Linked DNA regions of Homo sapiens: regions 2 and 3 are each linked to region 1. Evidence: promoter capture Hi-C in 16 types of primary human blood cells and fetal thymus (Javierre and others, 2016). All regions are on one chromosome and are shown on one strand. The core of a region is centred on a gene start or on the middle of the fragment in contact, and the rest is flanking DNA. Distances in the headings are between cores, read along the strand shown. Region 1 holds the start of MXD3 (MAX dimerization protein 3). Region 2 overlaps ZNF346 (zinc finger protein 346). Region 3 holds the start of FAM193B (family with sequence similarity 193 member B).

Evidence for each region. The method cuts DNA at HindIII sites, captures the fragments that hold promoters and counts their contacts. A CHiCAGO score of 5 or more calls a contact.
Region 2: a fragment that was not itself captured here is called in contact with the fragment with the promoter of MXD3 in region 1 in 1 of 17 cell types (megakaryocytes); the score reaches 5.6 in megakaryocytes.
Region 3: a contact is called between a fragment that was not itself captured here and the fragment with the promoter of MXD3 in region 1, in 11 of 17 cell types (total CD8 T cells, monocytes, naive CD4 T cells and 8 more). The highest score is 10.6, in total CD8 T cells.

What each region holds. Positions count from the first base shown.
Region 1 is chr5:177,310,193-177,314,068 of GRCh38, forward strand. MXD3 (MAX dimerization protein 3) reads right to left here and starts at 1,706. Exons shown (of 6, transcript NM_031300.4): 1 at 1,569-1,706; 2 at 1,187-1,292; 3 at 476-505; 4 at 234-348. The coding sequence starts at 1,638. RefSeq lists enhancers at 1-673, 931-1,130, 2,781-2,840 and silencers at 1,681-1,860, 1,991-2,560. The HindIII fragment of the contact is 10,591 bases long and covers 1-3,876 here.
Region 2 is chr5:177,059,479-177,063,354 of GRCh38, forward strand. ZNF346 (zinc finger protein 346) reads left to right here. Exons shown (of 7, transcript NM_012279.4): 6 at 2,580-2,673. Among named protein-coding and RNA genes, the nearest start is that of FGFR4, 25 kb to the right of the region's middle. RefSeq lists an enhancer at 2,207-3,406. The HindIII fragment of the contact is 5,627 bases long and covers 1-3,876 here.
Region 3 is chr5:177,550,895-177,554,770 of GRCh38, forward strand. It overlaps FAM193B (family with sequence similarity 193 member B), which reads right to left and starts at 3,669. Exons shown (of 9, transcript NM_001190946.3): 1 at 3,355-3,669. The coding sequence starts at 3,564. It overlaps FAM193B-DT (FAM193B divergent transcript), which reads left to right and starts at 3,734. Exons shown (of 3, transcript XR_941274.3): 1 at 3,734-3,876. RefSeq lists silencers at 2,838-2,947, 3,278-3,487 and enhancers at 3,368-3,871, 3,598-3,757, 3,778-3,876. The HindIII fragment of the contact is 899 bases long and covers 1,607-2,505 here.

The DNA.
Region 1 (3,876 bases), core at 456-2,955:
AACAGTGAACATTTATAGAGTGAACTCATTTAAGCCTCAACAACCCTCTGAGTTATTGTCTGCTTTTCTTCCCATTTAATGGATCTGGAAAGTAAAAGCTCAGAGAGCTGTCCTAAGTCACACAGTTCTTGAGCTCTGACCTCAGGTCTCGTTCCCCAGTCCCACCAGCCCCTCCATAGCACAGCCCTCCATACACCAGGGCAAGCCAGTCCGGGCGCAGTGGGGGGCCTCACCTGGATGTGCATCCTGGCACGGCGCAGCAGGCTCAGCGTGGTGTACCGGGCACAGTCGGCCCCCAGGGGCATCTGCTGCTTCAGCCGCTCCAGGCACCGCTTCAACTGGGCCCTCCTGTGGGGAAGAGGTCTGGAGGGCAGTGCCAGCCCCACCTTGCCGGCCACAGGAATGGCAGGGGAGGGAAGGCCAGAGGGCAGTGGCCCCTGGGGGCTGGCGCTGTCAGGGCAGGACTGGGACTCACCTGCGCTTCTCCAGTTCATTGTGCACTGACCTGCCAATGCCAGAGAGGATGAGGTGAAGGGGAATCAGCTACTGCCCATGCCCCAATCCCAGGGCCCCCAGTGGCTCAAGAGCCACTACAGATGTCTGCCCCAAACAAGTCCCCTGTGGAGAGCTCATGCTGGCCTCAGACACCAGAGTCCCCTGGCAGGGCGAGGGGAGTCAAAGACACACGGAGCCAAATGCTTAACAGAAGCCTGCCCAGGTGGGTATGAGGGCCCTAACAAGGGCGCCTGCCAGCTGGCCAGAAAGGACCTCCCAGAGGTGACAGCTAACTGCGGAAACAGATGTTTCCCAAGCCGGTACTGGAGGGAGGGGCATTCAAATAGGAGGGAACAGCATATGCAAAGGGCTGGGGAGAGGAGAGAAGAGGAGGAAGCCAGCGGGGGAGGTGAGTGGCCTGATGTGTGGGGTGCGGGAGTGCGAGTGGAAGCGGGACCCCAACTGCTGTTGGCAGTTCCCGGCACATCTAGAGGTGCTCAAGAAATAGTCCTTGAATGAATAGAAAGGTGTGAGTGTGTTTGGAGAGTGGGGAGATGGCAGGAGGGGTCTGAACGCTTCCTGGAGCGGGACACCTGGCCCAAAAGATGCAAGCAACAAGTGGGCAGAGGAGGGCCCGACCAGGGGCGGCGCCCACCCCCACCCCCACTCCCGCCGCCCCCGGCCTCCTCACCGCCCGCTGTCCTGCGCGCCAGGAGCCTGGGGGGGTCGCTTCTTCCTCCTGTGGATGGGGCCTGGACTGCGATGCGGGCACAGGGACGCATAACCATGCTCGGCCTCTGCCAGAGAGAGTCCCCGCCCGCGTCAGGCTGGGGCTGGACCTGGTCCCAGCGGCAGCCCCAGGCACAGCACGGTCAAGGAAAGGCTTTTGGCGCCAGGACCATTTCCCCCACCCGTCCCTGCTCTACCGCCCCGGGACTCCTCTCGAGTTGAGGGCGAGGCGCCCCGGGATTACTGTCCTAGGGCGGTGCATCCTTCAAGCTGGGAGCCAGGTCCAGTCCAGGCCCGTGTCAGCGAGGTCGCCGCCCGGAATTCAGCCAAGGGTCCTTCCTCACCTCTCTCACGGCGCTCCAGGAACTCGGCCGCCTGCAGCAGGACCTGGATGTTGCTGGCCAAGGGTTCCATGTCGGCGACAGCTGGCGGCGGGCCGGCCTAGGGTGCCGGCCGGAGCAAGCGGCTGCAGCACTTTTGTTACAAAGTAACTGACACGGTGCAACAAACACAGGGGCCCGCCCCGCCCCCGGGACGCCCCGCCCGCGGGAACGCCCAGCCCTTGGCTCCGCCCCTCTGGAACCCGCCACGGAGCCGCAGCCCACCCTCCGGCAGCCGCCCCGCCCCGAGTGGTCTCAGACTTTCCAGGGGCAGGTAAGGGCGCTGGCTCCAGGCCTGGCCCTGGAGCGAACCCTCAGGCTAACCGGTGCTGCTTCTTGCCCGCCTCACTCATCCACCCACGCCGGCTCATTGGCGTCTTTGATCTCAGCTTCCAGCCCCGTGCTAGTGACTAGCCCCCAACATAGCACGGCGCTCTGGGGGCCTGGTGGTCCCCTGAAAGCGCCGGGCCCAGCCGCTGCACGTGGGTGCCGCGGGGGCGGGGCCTCCGGCCGCCGCTCGCCCATTCGCACATGGCTTCTCAAGGATCGCTGTTGTCATCCTCGGGGCGGGGTCGGGGAGCCTCTGATGCCCTATTGGCTGGCGCTCTGCCCCGCCCTCTCCCGCCGCTGATCCACACGTTCGGGCGGGAAAAGAAGCAGGTTTCAAATTTGAAAACCCAAGCGATGGGGCGGGGTTGAGAGGGGAGCTGGGCCTCAATGCGCAGGCGCCGGCGGAGGGGCGGCGGACCCGGCTCCTGCCCTCCGGGGTCTGTCCCCAAGCCTGCCTGCCATCTGCCCCCGAAGGCCCCCGTGGGCCCCAGCTTCCTACTGTGTCGAATGGGAATAATATCTCGGCCCCCCTCCTCTTCTGTGAGGAAGCTGTTGTTGCTACGAAAACGTCAGTGGGGTAACAGCTTCCTCAGGCAGGCCATACCCTGGAGGCACGCGAAATGGCCTTTTCCGGGGCCTTGGGCTCTGGTATCCACGCAGTTGGGGTCCTCTCCTGTCACTGATGTCTCAGCTGTGTATGACTCAGGAGGTGACCTCCGTCTCTAAGCCTCAGGAGCCCTGCGACAGCGTTGAAGGATCAGAGCCAATGCCTCTGCGGTGCCCATGGCATGAAGGAGCCGCCCATCTCAAAGGCCAGTGCAACCAGACCGCGGCGTTTGCCTCCCAGGCAGCCCCTGCTTGCCTTACTCAGAGTCCATAAACCCTTCTTGCACCTGACTCTCCTAGCCGGCCGAAGGAGTGGCTGTGATGACTTCTAGCCTCAGCACCAGCAGGTGGGGCCACATCTGGGGACAGGAAGATGAACGCAGCTGTAGCAGGGTGGAGCATTGCTGCCAGCCACGGGCTGAGTCTGTGACTCCAGTAATCCCAAAATAGAGAGGGGAGGGAAGGTGGGAGGGATAGATGCTCTGTAAAGAGACAGTCCTGGTAAACACAAGCACATGTCAGTCAGGCCTCAGTTCCTTGGGAAAAATCTTTTTTTTTTTTTTGAGTCTTGCTCTGTTGCCCAGGCTGAAGCGCAATGGCTCAGTCTCGACTCACTGCAACCTCCGCCTCCCGGGTTCAAGCAATTCTCCTGCCTCAGCCTCCCAAGTAGCTGAGACTACAAGCGCCCACCACCACACCCAGCTAATTTTTGTATTTTTAGTAGAGACGGGGTTTCACCGTGTTGGCCAGGCTGGTCTCGAACTCCTGACCTCAGGTGATCCACCCACCTCAGCCTCCCAAAGTGCTGGGATTACAGGTGTGAGCCACCGTTCCTGGCCGGGAAACATCTTGAAGTTTCGGCCAGGCGCCGAAAAAAAATGAAGTTTCTCTAAGAGTTGCTCACAGCGGAATAACTGCCCTGTCTAGGCAGACGATCCATCTACCCAGCCGCCTGTCCTTAACTCACAAAGTATTTGCTGAGCTCTCACTGGACACCAGGCGCTGTGCTGGGGGCTGGAGGACATACGATAGGCAAAATCATACAGGGTCCCTGCCCTTGCAGAGCTCATAGGCTTGAGAGGGAAAGACACCAATACAGTCGCAGGAAGGCGGAGGTCCAGCTGGACAGGTCCTCACAGGGAGAGACCATGCCCCACAACACATTCTAAGGAACATTTGACCTAATTGGTGAGGCCAGAGAAGGCTTTACTGGGGAAATGGATGAAGAGGTGTTATCTAAGTATAGGAGAGATGAAAGAATTCTAGACAAAGGAACAGCACATGCAAAGGCCCTGGGGCTGAAAGGAGCATGGCAGGGGCGGTGTGGCTTACAGAG
Region 2 (3,876 bases), core at 724-3,223, 250 kb before region 1:
GAGTGGTTTTATACTCCAGGCTTGTGTTTCTCTCATATTCACCCAAGAAGGCCAGAACTAAAACCTACATAGCATTCAGGCAAATCCTTCTTGCCCCCAGAGCATTGAATGTCCCCTCCAGGTTACTGAAATCCTCTGCTTCACCCCATTACTTTCCCTAATTAGGGTCTTATCTCCCACTCAGTAGAGCTGCTTTCTGAGCCCCATGCTGGTCCCCCAGTTTCTTCAGCTTTTATATACAGGACAAGTTTTCAAGTCTTACTAAATTCATATATAGTCAATAAGTATTTATTGGACTTTTACCTAATATGTGCCAGGCATTGTGGTAAATACGTAGTAAACAAGACAGGTATTGTCTGTGTTCTTATGGAGCTTACAGTCTAGCAGAGAAGACAGGCATTGAGCAAACAGTTACAACTGTGACAAACTTCAGAAAAAAAGACAAATGCAAGACTGTGGGCACATAAAATGAGAGGAGATAAGATGGGGGAGCAGGGATCAAGAAAGGCACCCCAGAGGGCAAGTAGGATAGTATGGGACGTAGTGACGCGGAGGACATGAGCAGGTGTCCACGCATGGCTTTGTGGGTCATGTTAGGGCAGCGGGCCTTCACCCTGAGAGCACTGGGACTGGGAAGCCGCTGCCAGTTTGAGCTTTACGGGCGGATCATCCTGGTTCCAGCGTGAGGAGGTTTGGAGCCTGGGCAACATGGCACAACCCCACCTCTACAAAAAGAAGAAAATACAAAAATTACCCAGGTGTGGCCAGGCACGGCGGCTCACGCCTATAATCCCAGCACTTTAGGAGGTCGAGGTGGGTGGATCATGAGGTCAGGAGTTTGAGACCAGCCTGGCCAACATGGTGAAACCCCATCTCTACTAAAACTACAAAAATTAGCCGGGCGTGGTGGTGCACGCCTGTAATGCCAGCTACTCGAGAGGCTGAAGCAGGAGAATTGCCTGAACCCAGGAGGCGGAGGTGCCTCCACTGCACTCCAGCCTGGGTGACAGAATGAGACTCCATCTCAAAAAAATCAAAAATAAGTTGGGCTGGGCACAGTAGCTCAACACCTGTAATCCCAGCACTTTGGGAGGAGACCAAGGCGGGCAGATCACCTGAGGTCAGGAGTTTGAGACCAGCCTGGCCAACATAGTGAAACCCTGTCTGTACTAAAAATAGAAAAATTAGGCATGGTGGCACGCACCAGTAGTCCCAGCTACTTGGGAGGCTGAGGCAGGAGAATCGCTTGAACCTGGGAGGCAGAGGTTGCAGGGAGCAGAGATCACGCCATTGCACTCCAGCCTGGGCAACAAGAGCAAAACTCCATCTCTAAATAAATAAATAAGTTGTGGGCTGGGGTGGTGGCTTACGCCTGTAATCCCAGCACTTTGGGAGGCCGAGGCGGGTGGATCACGAAGTCAGGAGATCAAGACCATCCTGGCTAACACAGTGAAACCCCATCTCTACTAAAAATACAAAAAAAATTAGCTAGGTGTGGTGGCAGGCGCCTGTAGTCCCAGTTACTCAGGAGGCTGAGGGAGGAGAATGGCGTGAACCCGGGAGGCGGAGCTTGCCGTGAGCCAAGATCGCACCACTGCACTCCAGCCTGGACGACAGAGCAAGACTGTCTCAAAAAAAAACAAGTTGCGGTGTAATTGGTTTGAGGGTAAGAAAAGCTAAGGATCAGGCCGGGTGCGGTAGCTCACGCCTATAATCCCAGCGCTTTGGGAGGCCTAGACGGATGGATCATGAGGTCAAGAGAGAGAGACCATCATGGCCGACATGATAAAACACTGTCTCTACCAAAAATACAAAAATTAGCTGGGTGTGGTGGCACATGCCTGTAGTTCCAGCTACTTGGGAGGCTGAGGCAGGAGAATCCCTCGAACCCGGGAGGCACAGGTTGCAGTGAGCCAAGATCGCGCCACTGCACTCCAGCCTGGCCACAGAGCGAGACTCCGTCTCAAAAAAAGAAAAGAAAAGGATCAGAAGAAAGGAAAGGATCTAGCTAAGATCACTTGAAAGCAGAACCAGCAGTTCAGTTCCCTATCCTGGCTCCTCCCTCACTACCAGACCATGTGGGAAAAGCCACTTTGTCATTGGAGCAGCCCTGAGATAGGGTCTGTGATTCCCAGGGTAGAAAGACAGATTGATTATCATAACCAGCGTTCTCACTAATTACTGTTACCGCAAGCCCTAGGAGAGTGGCACCTTCCCAGAGATCTCTCAGTGAAGGACGTCCTTAATGAGGCCACTTAGCACAGTCAAGGTAGAAATACAGACCAAATGTCACCTCTCTGTTCTGTCATTCTTTTATCACTCAGCAGACAGCTAGTCTGGGCCAGGCTCTACGCTGGAACGAGGGACACAGGAATGAGGATCTTCCCAACCCCAGGAAGCACATAGGCACACAGTCTGTGCCTCCTTAGCACTGTGGCCTCTGGGTTCTCATCAGGGCCAGCAACCTCACCTCGCCTCACCTGTCCGTCCTTAGAAGGGCATTTGTACACTCTGAAAAGCAACGGTCTTCAGGTTCCTTCTTTCTGGATTACTAAGATCTTGATTTTGATGTGTTTCAGCTGGAAAGGGCTACCCCTGCAAAACATGTAAGATAGTGCTGAACTCCATAGAACAGTACCAAGCTCATGTCAGCGGCTTCAAACACAAGAACCAGTAAGTAACCATTTTTTGAAATTCTAGGATCCATAGCAGGAGCTCAGGACTTCTGCATCAGAACAAAGCCAGGTAGTTCTCGGCTGAAATGGAATCCTGGCAGTCTTTTTTCAGTGAACAGAAGATGAATCATGTAACAGGAACAAGTGTCTCCTCTATATGTATTTCTCCACCAGCTTCTGCCCAGCCTTTAGACCTGTTGGACTCAAGGGTTTAATAGAGAAGCATACATGATTTCCTTGGTGGGACCCTAAGAACACCTGGCTGTCCTAGTCTGTAGCACTCTGACTGGGGAAGTGCTTTTCCACTGGCCTGGAGACCCTCTCCTTTTCTGGCAGGAGTTCCCTCTATAGGTCATTATCAAATATGACCAGGCCCTCTCATTCCTTAATCAAATATATATTGAGCATCTTCTGAATGATGGCCAAGACAGACCCAGTCTCTGCTCTCCTGACCTTACAGCCTGGTGGGAGGAAACAGACTAAGCAAGTAAACAACCAATAATCACAGATTGTGATAAGGGTTTTGAAGGAACCAGGTGAACAGAGAGTTACCTGTTCATGGTAATCTTGGAAGTGACTAACATTCATTGAGCCCCTCTTCTGTTGCAGGCCATATGTCAAGCAGATTTTCTCAGGTAATCCTTCCAACCCTGAGAGGAAGAGATAATTATTCCCATTTTATACATATAGACAACCAGCATTCAAAGTGGTGATGTGAATGAAGCAAGGTCATGATTCAAACTGAAGCCTGTCTGGCTCACAGCATGCTCTTCCCAAGGCGTCAGGCTCAGAAGTAGGCTATGGCACCACTGATATGAAGAGAATAGGGCCTGGCCTGGAGGGCCCACATGGTTCTGTCCCTTCCTCTCCGAAGGGAAACGTGTGGTATGAGCAGTGTGCCACAACATAACGTTTTTTTTTTTTTTAGTAGAGATGGGGTTTCACCATATTGGCCAGGCTGGTCTCAAACTCCTGAGCTCAAGTGATCCATCTGCCTCGGCCTCCCAAAGTGCTGGGATTACAGGCATGAGCCACTGCACCTGGCCCCAGCATAACCTTCTGAGATAGGTAGAAGAATTCCCATTTTACAGACAAGGAAACTGAGTTTCAGGCAGGCAAGCTGCCGAAATGATTGCTTTGACTTTGGTCATTGATTTTGCTTTGCTCATTGAGCTGAATGATTTAAAGGTGGTAGAAACAC
Region 3 (3,876 bases), core at 806-3,305, 240 kb after region 1:
ACATGAAGTCCTGGGTAACTTAATTCCTGGGTTCAAGCAATCCTCCCGCCTCAGCATCCCAACTAGCTGAGACTATAGGTGTGAACCCATGCCCAGCTAAGTTTTGATTTTTTTTTTTTTATAGAACCAGAGATCTCACTATGTCACCAATGCTGGTCTCAAACTTCTGGCCTCAAGAGATCCTCCTGCCTCAGCCTCCCAAAGTGCCGGGATTACAGGCGTGAGCCACCAAGGCCTCTTGTGAAGTTCCTGATGGGGTCAGAGAGAAGCAACTTGCGGAGTCACAAAGCTAGGAGGCTAAGCTGGGAATTCAATCCAAGTCTCTAAACACTATTCCCCACTGCCTCCTACAATTGCTTTTTCAGTTGTTCTTTATTTTTTTTTTTGTTTGTTTTGTTTTCCTTTGCTAATAAGGTAGTAACTGTTTCAGCCTTCTTGTGCTATAAACGAGGATTTGGGTTGTTAGGAAACAGATCAATGTGGTTTAGTGGCCTGAAACAATTGAAAGCCATTTGGGATCCCAATTAAACTCAAGGTCCTGCTTTAAATGTGTACAGGTTATGCCAATGAGTGAAGGGGCCTGGAAAGAACCAAAGATGCCTAAGGAGCATACGCTGTCTAAAAGGGCCAAATGCTACTCAGAGACTACTGATTACTGCCTTGTGGAAAAGTGGACCCAGCATCACCATATCTTTAGTTTAAAAAAGAGCCCCAAATCCAAATGTGTGGGAAACCTTTTGATCTTTAAAATATTGGCTCAAATGAAAATAAAAACAGAAACAAAACAATATGTGAGCTGGGGCATTACAACAAGCCTGTGGACTGGAAGTGGTCTTATTTGCCACCTTTGGATTCAGTTTGGTATATGACACTGAGTTTCATCTTCCTTATCCACTCTGTAGATGTAAGACAGGGTTATGAGTGGCAATGGGAGCCAGAGTTCCTCACCAAAAACACGCTTGTAGGCAGAGCAATGACTGAACCCTACCCTTACACTAGGTGCTTTGCACCAGGGCACAAAAGCCTGCTTCCAGACCCCACCCCCGGTCAAAGTGGGGCATAACTAGAACCGAATTTACCAGTTTGTTTCCCTTCTTTGGGGCTATAGTTTAAAAAAAAATGCCTTGTTGAAAATCCCCCAAAGTACCTAAAAGTCCTTTTCTTTTCTTTTGTCTGACACCTACAGTTGGAGTCATTTGGGCAAATGTTTAGTTGCTCTGAGTTTCTGTTTCTTCATCTGAAAAATGGAGTAATGATAATTATATCCTCCAGTTTGTTGATCAATATTTGTTAACCACCAGGCACAGGGGTACAATGGTGACTGACATGGCTCCTGAACTCGCAGAGTTCACAAATAAAAACAAATAATCACATCAATGGTCAATTCATCATATTTGTGCTAAACGCTGCGGAGAAATACAGGTGAGGTGGGAAGATTAGAAGTAAGGTATGTAAAGTGCCTGGCACAAATAAATGAATCAGCAGGTCAAGTAGTGGAGTAGGTAAGAACATGGTAGGAACCTAGATGTCAAAGAAATTGATGAAGCTTAGAGCTCTTGGCAAAGTTGTGTCCTTAATAAAAACTGAATGGTTGAGCCATCATCCAAGCTTTTTGGCATCTCTATGTGGCAGAGACCCTGAAGTATTCTATGGTCTGCTGAATGGGAAGAAGAGAAGACAACAGCTTTCCAGCTCTCCCTTCTCCCACTCTCCCTTTTTGGATAACAGCACTCCCACGGGGGTCCCAGAGTAGGCTGGTGGGGGAAGCAGCTTTGGGGTTGGAAGCTAGACCCAGTAGGGGTTGGGGGTCCAACCTGGGGAGTCTCCTACGGAAGTGTCAGCCTAGGATAGGAGATGGGGATGCGGATGAAGGTGGAGCTTCTGACACTCAGTAAGTGCTGACATTTTCATTAATTAAAAACCTTATTGTGATCTGAGACACAAAGGAAATCAGCATGAAAACTGGGTTACAATAAGCACGGGTTCTGGACCGATTCATTTTCTCTCTCATTCACCTAGTTATTTTTATTCTGTGTTAGCAAGGCCCTGGGCGAGGCGTGGAAGATCAGAGAAAGATGGCATAGCCTGTGTCCCTGTGGAGTTCACAGTCCAGGGCAGGCAACAGACATATCAACACAATGTTTCATCACAGAAAGGGGAGTGCTACCAGAGGGAGGCACAGAGGGCTGTGGGCACAGAGAGGGCACCTGACGCAACTGGGGAGGTCAGGGGAGGCTTTGTGGGAAGGTACCCCAAACGGCAACCCCACTCACATGCACAATTCCAGAGATTCTACTAGAAGGCTGTCAAGAGCCATGCCTTCTGGCTGCACCAGCCTCCCAGAGTCCCCTGCTGCCCGATGCAGTGTCTGCAGAGCCAAACGCATCTTCCGCCACGCCTCATCCTCATCCGGCGCCGCATCCGACCCTCCAAGACTCCTGCAGGAGCCTGCCTTCCTGGGCAGGCTCAGCCAAAAGACCAACTCAAAACTCTTTTGTCAGAGCAAGCTTAGGGAGAGCCACCCAGCCCCGAGTGCCACAACCCTCCCAGAGCAACCGTGGCCCATGTCACCCCCGCCTCTCAGTGAACTTTGGCAGGGTACCTCCCGTTATCTCCTTTGCTCAAAAGAAAGTGACCTTCTTCCAGGTGGCAAGCTGGAAGCTTTGGGGAATCCTCCTACTGTTCGCTCTCAGCAGGATTCTCCAAACCTGGGATCTCAAGGTCGGGGTGGGCTGCCTTGCGGAGCAGGGGAGGGAAGAAGGGCAGGTTCTGCTGGGTTTCCACCTCAGTGCAGAAACCCCACCAAAAACTCCTCCGGGCAGCCTGGCTGTCTGCTCCAACTGCTCTGCTGGGTATGGCGAGGAGGCGCCAGGAGACACAGCTGCTGAGGGGGCCGCGGCTGCAGGCGCTGCAGGGGACGGAGTGGAGCCGTTCCCGGGGGCAGAGGGAAGAGGCTGCAGTCGTCCAGTCCCAGAGCCCCGAGATGGCCTGTGGCTGAGGGAGCAGGTGGGCCCGGGGGAGGTGGCGGGCCGAGAGCGGAGCTGCGGCCTCGGGATCACAGCCCAGTCCCAGTCCCAGTCCCAGTGTGGGTGTACGGCCGGAACGCCCGGAGGCGGCGGGGAGAGGGGAGCAGCTTCAGCCTAGTCGCAGGAGCGCGGACCGAGCCTCGGCTTTGGGGAGAGGGGTCCAGCCTCCATTCCCGCCCCGGGGGAGAAAGCTTCGGCGCCGGACCCGGGGGAAGGCTGCTACCCCAGCCGCGGCAGGATGGCCCATCCCCAACCCCGCCCCACTCCCGCTCCCGCTCGGGGAAGGTGAAAGCGCCCGAGCCGCCGAAGTCTCCCCGCTCGCTCCTACCTGCGGGCCGGGCACCAGGTTGGGTTCGTCATCCTCCCTGGGGCCGTCGTGGTCGGGCTCCGCCGGCGCCTCCGGAGGGCCTGCACCCGCTCCCGCCTCCAGGCTTGGCGGCGGCGGGGGCTCGGGCGCCTGGGGCTTCTGCGGCCCCGCGGCCCGAGCCCGCTCGCGCCTGCCCGCACCGCCGCTCGGCCTGCTCCGCCTCCGCGTCATGCCGCCGCTCGCGCCGCTCCCTCGCTCCACACGCCGCCGCCGCCGCCGCCGCCGCCGCCGCCGCCGCCGCCGCTACCGCTCCCCTCACAGGACAACAGCCAATATGGCGGCGCCCGGTTCCCCCCCTCCGCCTGCTGCCAACAGGTCAGAGGGCACGCGGAGTCCGCGCCGCCGCACTAGCCCCCGAGGCCGCCTGCGCCATTTTGAATAAGGTCACCACCCGGAGTTCGCTGGGAGAAAAACTTGGTGGGGAGACGCCCTTCCCCCCCTACGCGGGACGGGAAGGATGCAACCTGCTGGAGGAACGCGTGT